Regions from separate parts of the Homo sapiens genome. Here region 2 is linked to region 1. The links are contacts of gene promoters, found by promoter capture Hi-C in human tissues and cell types (Jung and others, 2019). All regions are on one chromosome and are shown on one strand. The core of a region is centred on a gene start or on the middle of the fragment in contact, and the rest is flanking DNA. Distances in the headings are between cores, read along the strand shown.

The links. The method cuts DNA at HindIII sites, captures the fragments that hold promoters and counts their contacts. A contact is called where the count stands out against the background at its distance.
Region 2: a fragment that was not itself captured here is called in contact with the fragment with the promoter of GPR18 in region 1 in 1 of the 25 tissues and cell types used here (spleen).

The regions. Positions count from the first base shown.
Region 1 is chr13:99,255,774-99,260,676 of GRCh38, forward strand. GPR18 (G protein-coupled receptor 18) reads right to left here and starts at 2,606. Exons shown (of 2, transcript NM_001098200.2): 1 at 2,381-2,606; 2 at 1-133. The coding sequence starts at 99. The region is part of intron 4 of UBAC2 (UBA domain containing 2); the gene reads left to right. LOC124903198 (a long non-coding RNA gene) reads right to left here. Exons shown (of 3, transcript XR_007063846.1): 2 at 4,366-4,475; 3 at 2,666-2,813. The HindIII fragment of the contact is 6,968 bases long and covers 2,593-4,903 here.
Region 2 is chr13:100,515,777-100,520,679 of GRCh38, forward strand. The region is part of intron 22 of PCCA (propionyl-CoA carboxylase subunit alpha); the gene reads left to right. Among named protein-coding and RNA genes, the nearest start is that of PCCA-AS1, 37 kb to the left of the region's middle. RefSeq lists enhancers at 1,286-2,010, 1,459-1,753, 3,461-4,126 and a silencer at 1,459-1,753. The HindIII fragment of the contact is 3,366 bases long and covers 235-3,600 here.

The sequences.
Region 1 (4,903 bases), core at 1,356-3,855:
GAAGATACAGCTATAGAAGACAAGGGCTGCAATTTTGTATTCATCTGGATGTGAGCTGTTAAAAGGGACAGGTTGATCTTGATTGTTCAGGGTGATCATTTTACAGCTTGTTGGTAGGCATGATACTTAGAAACTGTAAAAATAGTTAAGAAAAATAAGAATAAAATCGTTGGTTAAAAAATAAATGCTTAACATTCTCCCACTCAGCTTGACTGCCAGTGAATTTTAAGTTCGAGAGCATTTAATCAAGGAACGATTCAACTGGTTAACTACTGAACATTCACAGTAATTCTCATTTGAGAGAGAATGGGAACTTTTCCTTTGTTACAGCTATAGCCCCACTGTCTATTGAGCATGTAATAGGTACTCAATAAATAAATATTTACTGAATTGATGAATAAATGAAGGAACTTTTGATGAGATGATTCACAGCAACTCTACTTTGCTAAAAAACTCTAGTTTGTAATTCTCTAGTTTGAAAATGAAGACTTGTGTAGCTGGCTATTAAACTTTTTGTTTTTTTTAAAGTGGAAACACTTCATAATATTTATTACCTTATGTTCTCTTTAAATTATCATAGGTTGAGAAACAGCAATGTTTTGTGTCATGGTCAGCAGATCAAGAACTAGACTGTTAGAGCAATAGATGAGCTGTTTTCTAGTGCACAATTGGGAGTACGTAAAGCCAAGTCTTCCAGGTTTTGTGATTTCAGCTGCTCTACTTCAGTGGTTCACAGAAAGCAGCACCTTGAAAAAAGCTAGTGCCGTTAGTAACTTTCATATCCTCATTCCATCTAGATTCAGAAGCTTCAATATTATTTAAATTTTAACAATTTTCAAAGTAAATCCAAAAAAGGAGTATCTAAGACAAGTAGATATTAATAAGAAGTCATTCAGTAACTTGATGTGTATGTAGAAACTTATAAATTTCCATCACCAAAAAAAAAAAAACCGTCCATTTTAAATGGAAAGGAGGTTATTTGGGGTTGCAAATATCATTGACTCCTCAGTGTGAAACTTCATTCCCCCATGATGCAACACCAACAACAGACTTCAAAAATAGACTTTGCTGCAATGAGATGGAATCTGTGGCATCCCCTTGTAATATGGAGGTGGATGAAAAGTTTCCTTCAAAAATGTCACTTTGCAGAGTGGGCTGTCTTGAAATCAGCCCAGAATTTCTCTTTAAGGAAAACTATGGGGGAGATTTGCTGTCTGTGGTCAGTGGCATCACGGGCTATTGATAATTAAGAATTAACTTGAGCAATTGCTGTGGTTAAACACAAGAAACGTGCCTGTCTGCCTTCCTTCCTTTCCCTTCCCTTCCCTTCCCTTTCTTCCCTTCTTCTCCTTCTTTCCTTCTCAAATATTTAGGTTAAATATGATTTAGGAGCATAATTCTATATATTTAAAAACATATTAAATTTTCCAAATATTGGTGTGACTAGAATATTAATTTCTATCAAATGAGGAAAGTGCTACAGAGAAAAATTATATCTCTAGTGTCATTCAAAGGAGAGTAATCTTGGAGGCTTAAATCTTATTTTTAACTGGAATGCATTCTTATTAAATAGTAGCAATTATAATATAAATGAAATTTTGTATTTGTTTTTCTTTTTTTAGTATTGCATCAGGACTCCCTTCACCTATCCTCATCCTTCAATTTTGTGACATAAGTCCTGTACTTACAAACCATCTTGAGTCTTTTTTCCCACGTTATGCTCAAGCTGTTTTTATGTAGCTTGTCACCAATACTTATATTCATTTGCTGACGTTTGAAAAAAAATGAGTGATGCATGTGTTTTAAAGGCATTATAGTATTGATTGTGCTCTGCAAACACAGAAATTTTTGGATAAATATTGAAAAGTGATTGACTTTAAAGTCAGCTTTTTAAAAGCTATAGATACCATGATTATCTGTAGCTTTTCTTTTCTTAAAAACCATTAAGTTATTTCATGAAACAATGTAATTGAAAACATGTGATGAACATTCCTAAATATACATATGATTTACCATAAACATTTTCTTTCCTTAAGTTGAAAAAAATTACATTTAGTATTAATGTAAAGCAATATTGAAAATAAATGTAAAATCATATTAATGTGGAAAGATGATTATATAGCCTATTTCAAGGTCTTTCACCAACATAGTTTGTTATGTTTATTTTTTTAATTAAATATATTTTTTTAATAGAGACGGGGTCTCACTATGGTGCTCCTGGGCACAACTGATCCTCCTGCCTTGGCCTCCCAAAGTGTTGGAGTTACAGGCGTGGGCCATTGCGCCCAGCCTGTATTATTAAAATGAAATGATTTTTGAAATGCAGTACATAAAGCATTACTTTTGACAATAATCATGAAGTTAATTAAATGCTGCTTACCTCCTGTCCATCAAAAGTCTGTGTGAGAGATGAGCATTTTTCAGCACTTCCACTTCTGTCGAAGGGATATCTTTGAGTTGCTTCTGTTAAAATAGCTCTTTCTGGAAACAGTGTATTTAAGAAATGTTGTATTTTGTTTTAGACTCTTTTGTTGCTTTAAAAAGTAGTTTCCAGTGTAACGCTTGGCGTCGGAGTTGGTGCTGGGCTGACTTTAATTGCTGCTTTGTCTCTTTCAGGAAGTGCTCTCTGAAATAGGCTTTTTCACCTTATGACTTTACCCTGGATGTGGTTTTTCTCTTTCACAAATGATTTGTTTATGAAGTCACACTTAGCATAAGCTCCCCTTGAAATGATGGCATATATTTAAGATAATTATATACAAAGGATAAAGTTTCTTCAGTTTGTGTACTTTGATGCTTGAAGTCTGCATCATCTATGGAAAGAGAAGATTTGATATTGAGTAAAAGGGGGTTTAAAGTCTAGCTTCTTTGCTTTATAAGCTATGTGACTTTGTCTAGTTACCTACCCACTCTGACTAACCCTTTGTTCCTACTTCATTTCTGTACAGTTGAAATAGAGATAATACTATATCCAGTAGGATTGTAGGGGCCCTAAACCAGAAAGATCCCAAGTGCTTAATAGTACCTGGCACTTAGTAGGTACTCCTAAATGGAGTCTCACTTTTTACTACCAAGTTATTAAAAATCATAGAATATCCACATTTCCACTTTTTACTATTTAAACATTTCTAAATGCTTAAAAGTAGGATCCTTGATTAATTGCTTCTGCTTTGCCACATACATTTATCCACTTTAGTTTGCTGTATTTTGTAAGTCTGCTTTTCTAGTGCGTGGAAGTCTAGAAATAATTTCTTTTGCATAAAAATTTCTGCAAATCTTAGCAGAAAGGACTCTGAAGTCTTTAGTGGACTGATTTACATATTAAGAGTGTTTTCACCTAAGAAGGGAAATGAAACCAGCAGAAAGGGAAGTGAGCAACGAATCGCTGCCTGCCTTGTTAGGTTAATTTTGTTTTACTTTCTCATTTCTTAAAAAAAATTATCTCTCATTTGCTTATCCTAAAATTTTAATTATCTTTATGTTTGGTTATGCATGGTTTGTCAACTTTTTAAAGGGTTCATGAACTTAAATGTATTTGTTTTTTTGAATTTTAGACAGTTTGGGGTCCATCCTTTTTTTTTTTTTTCTCAGACAAAACCATAGTAAATCTGTGGCTTAGAAAAGTTACTTAAATCCTTGCCTTTGGTGATAAAATACTTTTGATTGTTACAACCTGCCAGAATGATGGGTTTTAGAAGTGTTGGAGACAACCATAGCAACTATTTCTTGTGTGGATGAAGAAATTGAAGGCCAGTTACTTGCTTAAGAACTCAAGGTAAAGCCAGGTCCAGTTTCTCCCGCTGTAATAACTTCTTATGAGGTAATTATATTGATCTGTCCACTAGATAGGACTTCTTATGGCTGAATCACATTCATCAGTTTTTTATATGTGATGTTATATTTCATTCATCACACAGGAGTTTGATGTTTCAGCTGGACAGAAATCTGCCTGCATGCAGACCTAATCTGTCCTTTGCCTTATTCACATAGCTTAGGACTTTTCTAAAATTAAGTATTGATTAGCTTCCCCATTGCTGCTAAAATCAACAGATACATTGATGGCATGTGTCTAGAAGAGTCCTTTCATCAAGACTTGAATTCTTCACGGTGCACAGGGGCATTCTTGTTTCTGAATTGCCAGACTCTTAGAGGAGGCATCCAGGAGCACCTGAGGGCTCTCCATAGGCCTGGCTTCAGGTTGGGGTGAGCTCTCACTTTTTCCTCATCTTGCTCTCCATTCCAGCCCTCTGGACTGGCTACATTTGCTCTTCCTGCCTCTCACATGCTGTTCCACCCACTGTGGCATTCCTCACCACTGTCTCCCACCTGATGGCATGGCCTGCTGCTCTTTGTTCTTGTAGCTACCTTTTTCAGGAAGCTTTCTCTGCCATCCGAAGCTGGGCTGGTTTCTCTGCCCTCCGAAGCTGGGCTGGTTGTTCATCCCTGCAGGTTTCCTTAGCACTTGGTACCTATCCCTGTAGTGGCACATGTTTGCATTGTTACTGCATATTTACTTGCTTTTTCTCCTCCACTAAATTGCATTCCTTGAGAGTTGGCATGTGTTGCATATGTGTGTAGAGAAGAGGCATTTAATATTGGTTGAATTTCTGACTGAACAAGTAGGTGAAGAAATGGAGAGGTTGGGGGAGGAATGGATAAATGTCTGGGCCTTGAGTCAGCAGGCAGGGACACTTTGACCAGCTTATGAGATGGGGAGACTTAGGCAAGGGCCTGAGGTCTGTCGTCCTCCCCTGCAACCCATGAGCCCTATAGCATTGACCCCCGTTCGCTGTGCTCCTGGATCTTCGCGATGGTTTTGTGTTGGCAGGGAATTATAGTGAAAAGAAACTGCCCAGTCATTTGACAGCAAGTAAACAATGGGTCAAGGATTCAACTTGTATAA
Region 2 (4,903 bases), core at 668-3,167, 1.3 Mb after region 1:
GATCTGGGAGTGGAGCAGAAAGAAGGCCAGATGCATTCCATCATTTTGCAAATGCAGTGTTTTGGGAAGTACTTTCCTTAAAAGTGCTGCTTACTCTCTAGTATGCTGTGCTCAAAGCATCCATTGAAGTCATGCCAGGGAATAATACTCCGATGAGGAACTTTTTGCATGATTCCTGGAACAAATGTCTAATTGGGAAGAAGAGTTGAGGAAAGGTTAATTCTGCAATCTGTACAGTACCAGAGCACTTCCATTACTTGGTAAATAAAATGTAGCATCACAGTTTGAAGTTTTTCATCTTGATCTTGTGACATTAAAGCACAAATCAAAGCTATATTATTTCCTCGAGATAACTTACATGGATGAATTGATAGGATGCACACATTTTCTTAGAACATGGATAGAAATCTCTACTGATGAGCAGCAAAAGTGAAAAGAAAACAATTTAGGAGGCAACCAGATTTCCAGGTACACTTAAATACTTGCATTTTTATTCATGTGCAGGAAAATAGCATCCGGACATGACTGTCTCTCATGGATGAGGTGGTGATTCCGTTTTGTATCTCAGGTCACTGGGACTTACATTTTAGTGCCTCCTGATTTCTCAATAGTACAGATAAAATATCTGCTTAACATTGAGGAAAAAATCAGGTAGTTGGCATTGGCTTCTAGAAAAGTATTTGCAATAAATGTGAATATTAAGAAAACATGATCAGTTTTAGTTGTTTGAATGACCAGCCCTGAAACTAATATGCGAAGTTAGAAAACCGACTTAACAGCTGCTTTACCTGGTGATACAGAAATAGAACTGTCCACTTTTTCAGAAAGGCATAAAAGAGGCTACGTGGCTGTGAATTGTTGTTTGCTGTGAAAGCATTGATACTCCTGGAAGAAAGCCCTCTTTAAGACTGTCTAATGCCCACGTGTTAAGGATTTGGGAGAGGCCATAAGAAAAATTACGTGTGTGTGTGTGTGTGTGTGTGTAATGTGTGTAAAATTCAGGGGAGGACATCTTCCTTCTCCAGAGTTAGGGTCGTAAGAGGATAGTCTCGTGGCCTTGACATTAAGAATCGTTCACTTGCACGTGACATTATCAGAGCTGTCAGTGGAATCTTCTAGTGACTAGATATGTAGGTTCGTAAACAATATAAGGGTTTTGTTTTGTTTTTTTCATTTTTCTTAAGTTTTTTTTCTGGAAGGCATCTATCTAGTCTGTATACTGCCAGCCTGAGCTTTCCACTCCTAATTGTGTGGCTTTAATTATAAAATCGTGTGTGTGTGTGTGTGTGTGTGTGTGTGTGTGTGTGTGTGTGTTTCAAGTAAGTGTTTTCCTTAAATCCTTTTCTAACACCTGAATCCAAACCGGAGTGGAGGGAGGGCGGGCAGGGATGAGGGAGACCACTCCTGCCTCAAGCCTGGAGGGCAAGAGGGTGAGACTGCAGCCCTGGCCCCTCACACGGCCCTCAAGGAGGTTGCTCAGAGGCAGTAAACGGGGCGCTCCCAAGGCCAGATCAGCGCAGCCTTCTGGTTTCTTTAACAGCTGCTGGCTCCTGATCTGACTTTCCCACATACCGAAAGGGTTTGGCCTTTGTACGTTCCATTTCCTGGTTAATAATTGAATGTAGAAAAGCAAGGCATTTCGTAAATGGGAACAATGTGATATCAGTCCTTGGTTCATTGATGTAGCTCAGATATTAAAAACACCCACCAATAATTAAATGTGTGTACTCATTAAGAATGGTTTGAGAACTGTTAAAAATATGTTACGGCAGAGCAACGGGGCCTATATTTTATGCATTCCTTTAAATTCAGAGTACCTGGGGGGCACGCGTAGTGAACAGGCTCAGGACCTCGGGATCTGTCAGCTCCCTCCTAAGTTCTGTTTGCGGGGGCTGCTCAGGTGGGGCGTATACTTGCTTTTATTTGTCTTTTTTGGTACTTGCAGAACTTCCTTTCATATTCTGTGCCATTGTGTTTTGATGAAACAGCCTTTTCTCTTGAATTACTGCTTGTGAAAAATGTCCCAAACCACTAATACCGAAACCCAATGCAGCCTGAGAAGTTTCATCGTCGGCTCTTAGCGCAACTTCTATAGTTAAATTCTGCTTAGTGTAATTAAAACACAAGAAGCTTCCTTGGACCAGAGGCACGTCACTTACTTGAGGCCATTGTGAGGAAACACTACCTGTCACGTTGAAATTTTGCGGTTTTAAGTGATTTTAACACCGCGGGGCGTGTTGTGTTTTCCTCCGCACTAACAATAGCCGGGCGAGGTTCCCCTTTTATGGGTGGGAAGATAATGGAGTCAGTCTCCTTGGTGTATTTTCAAGGAAAATAAGGACCCTAAAACAACTAAGGGCCTTACAAGTATTCTGTTTTTCTTTGAAATGTTACTTTTTATCGTTTAAATTCCAGTAATCTATCATGTTTCTGTTTAGCTTAGCTGAAGTAAAACTTGACCAATCGTAGAATGGTGGGCCTGGCAATAAGTTCTAAAAAAAGTGTCACATAAATCGTAATGAACAAATCTGTTTTGTGAAGTAAACAATTTGAACACAGTTTAAAAACCTCAGGAAGAAGAGATGTGGGGTGGCCGTTGAGAAGTAGTGAATCCGCTCGGGGCGCTTGGTGTGGCAGGGCCTTGTGCACTGATTCATTTGAAACACTCAGCCTGCCCTAAACACAGAAGCTGTGTTTTATTTGAAGGGCTTCTGTAGGGTTCACACAGCAAAAGTTCCTAATAACTTTTTCAGTGTCTGTTATATACTATTTAACATTAAATGTGGCAGGTCACATTTTAAATGATTGTGTAATAGTTTTTCCGAACACGTGGAGAGAGGATGTTAATACACAGTAAAATGCAGGTAAGCAAACAAATCAATAAGAAAGTACAGTGGATTATTAAGGTCCAGAATCAGTAATATAATTTAGGAAACAACTGATAGAATAAATTTTAGTGCCTTTTTATATGCCTTCTGAAAATGTTTCTGCAGTAACTCATTTCAGTTTGAAAACTCGTTTTCTTAGACTCGTAACACTATTGTAAACTGGGAGCACTTCTGTAATCAAAGTTAGCATGACTCAGCTGTTTCAAACTTCTACCTTTATGATACTCTTGAACAGAAATGTTAGAAATATATATATTTTCAGAATAACGGTAGAATACATTTTTCCACATGTCAAATTAGACTTATAGCTGCTGAATTTATTGCATAATTTTCACTTTGACTTTGAAGTCAAATAAAGTCATGATGAGCACATTCGCTTTGTTAGCCTTTTGATATCAGAAACAAAACCACCCCATAAGATAGTCACCCAAGGAGGCATTTTAATATTGCATTTAGTTAAGATTCTTTCAAGTAATGTTCGTATTCTGCAGTCATCACAGATTTGCATCAGAAATACTCATTTAATACACCAAACAAATGAGAAACAAACCATAAGCTGCTATATACTCATCTGCATTTCTTTCTTTCTTAACAATTAGTGAAACCAGGTGAAAGAATAGATTGAAATTAAGTACCTGTTGCTGCTTTTTCTTGCGAATTAGCCCATTCGATATTAGACTTCGGGATATTTTGGTGGGGCTAAGATGAAAAGATCCACCTCGTGATGGAATTGACCTTCAGCAGGGGACAGTGAGGTGTCTGCGGTTGTTCCTCTTGTGAACAACGCCTTAAAGGCGAGAAACAGCCTACTGTACAGTGTGCCAGGGAAAGCATCACATCGGTGGGCGTCGGTGGCAACACCACTTACACTTCACCCTGATTTTGTTTCCTCCTTGCACGTGCTCCTTTGACAGGGCAGGCTCCCAAGCAGGTGTGCAGTCAGGGCCACAAGACACAGGCACCCCATCCCATCTCAGAGTCTGACGTCCCCTCCTCCCCTTTGTCTCTAAGCCTCATGTAACTGAGCTTATAGCCGACCATACAGAACTGGCAAACTTGGTGAGATACCTTTATTTTTTATTTCTTAAACAAGATTTTAAAATTTCATAAGCTCTCACGTATCCTAACGAGAAGGCAGGGCTGGGCCCTCCCGACGGGTGTTTGCCTGGCATCGCGCTTGTGTGCCTCATGCAGCCCAGGCTCGCTCACTGCATCTTTCCCTGGCAGAGGGGCTAGCCTGGCTGCTTCATAGACTTTCCAGTTTCTGGATACCTTGATTTACAATCACAAAATAATTGCAGTAATTAAATTTATATGTTTTATAGCAATAGTTATTCAAGCAGTTTATTTGACAAGATGCCAGTTTTCACCCAAACCTCAGATTGTATCTCACAGCATGTACACAGAGATCCATGCATTTGTTAACATTTTAAGACTTTAAAATTATGAAATACTACAAACATGCAGAAAGTTACAGAGAAGAATCCAACAAGCACTCCTGTGCCCTTTGTTCACCATTTCCATATGTGTTTCAAATTTTATTTAACAATGAGACATTACATATAACATGAACTTCCCCTGTGGCAAGCTCCTCCATCTCATTCCTGTCCTGTCTTCTTCAGAGGTAACGACTACCCCTGGATTTGGCCTTTTAATCTTTTCCAGATAACATTTATTTTTAAATGTTAAGAGTTGGTTTTTGGCCGGGCGCGGTGGCTCACGCCTGTAATCCCAGCACTTTGGGAGGCCGAGGCGGGCGGATCACGAGGTCAGGAGATCGAGACCACGGTGAAACCCCGTCTCTACTAAAAATACAAAAAATTAGCCGGGCGCAGTGGCGGGCGCCTGTAGTCCCAGCTACTCGGGAGGCTGAGGCAGGAGAATGGCGTGAACCCGGAAGGCGGAGCTTGCAGTGAGCGGAGATCGCGCCACAGCACTCCAGCCTGGGCGACAGAGCGAGACTCCGTCTCAAAAAAAAAAAAAAAAAAAAAAAGAGTTGGTTTTTGTTGGAGGTA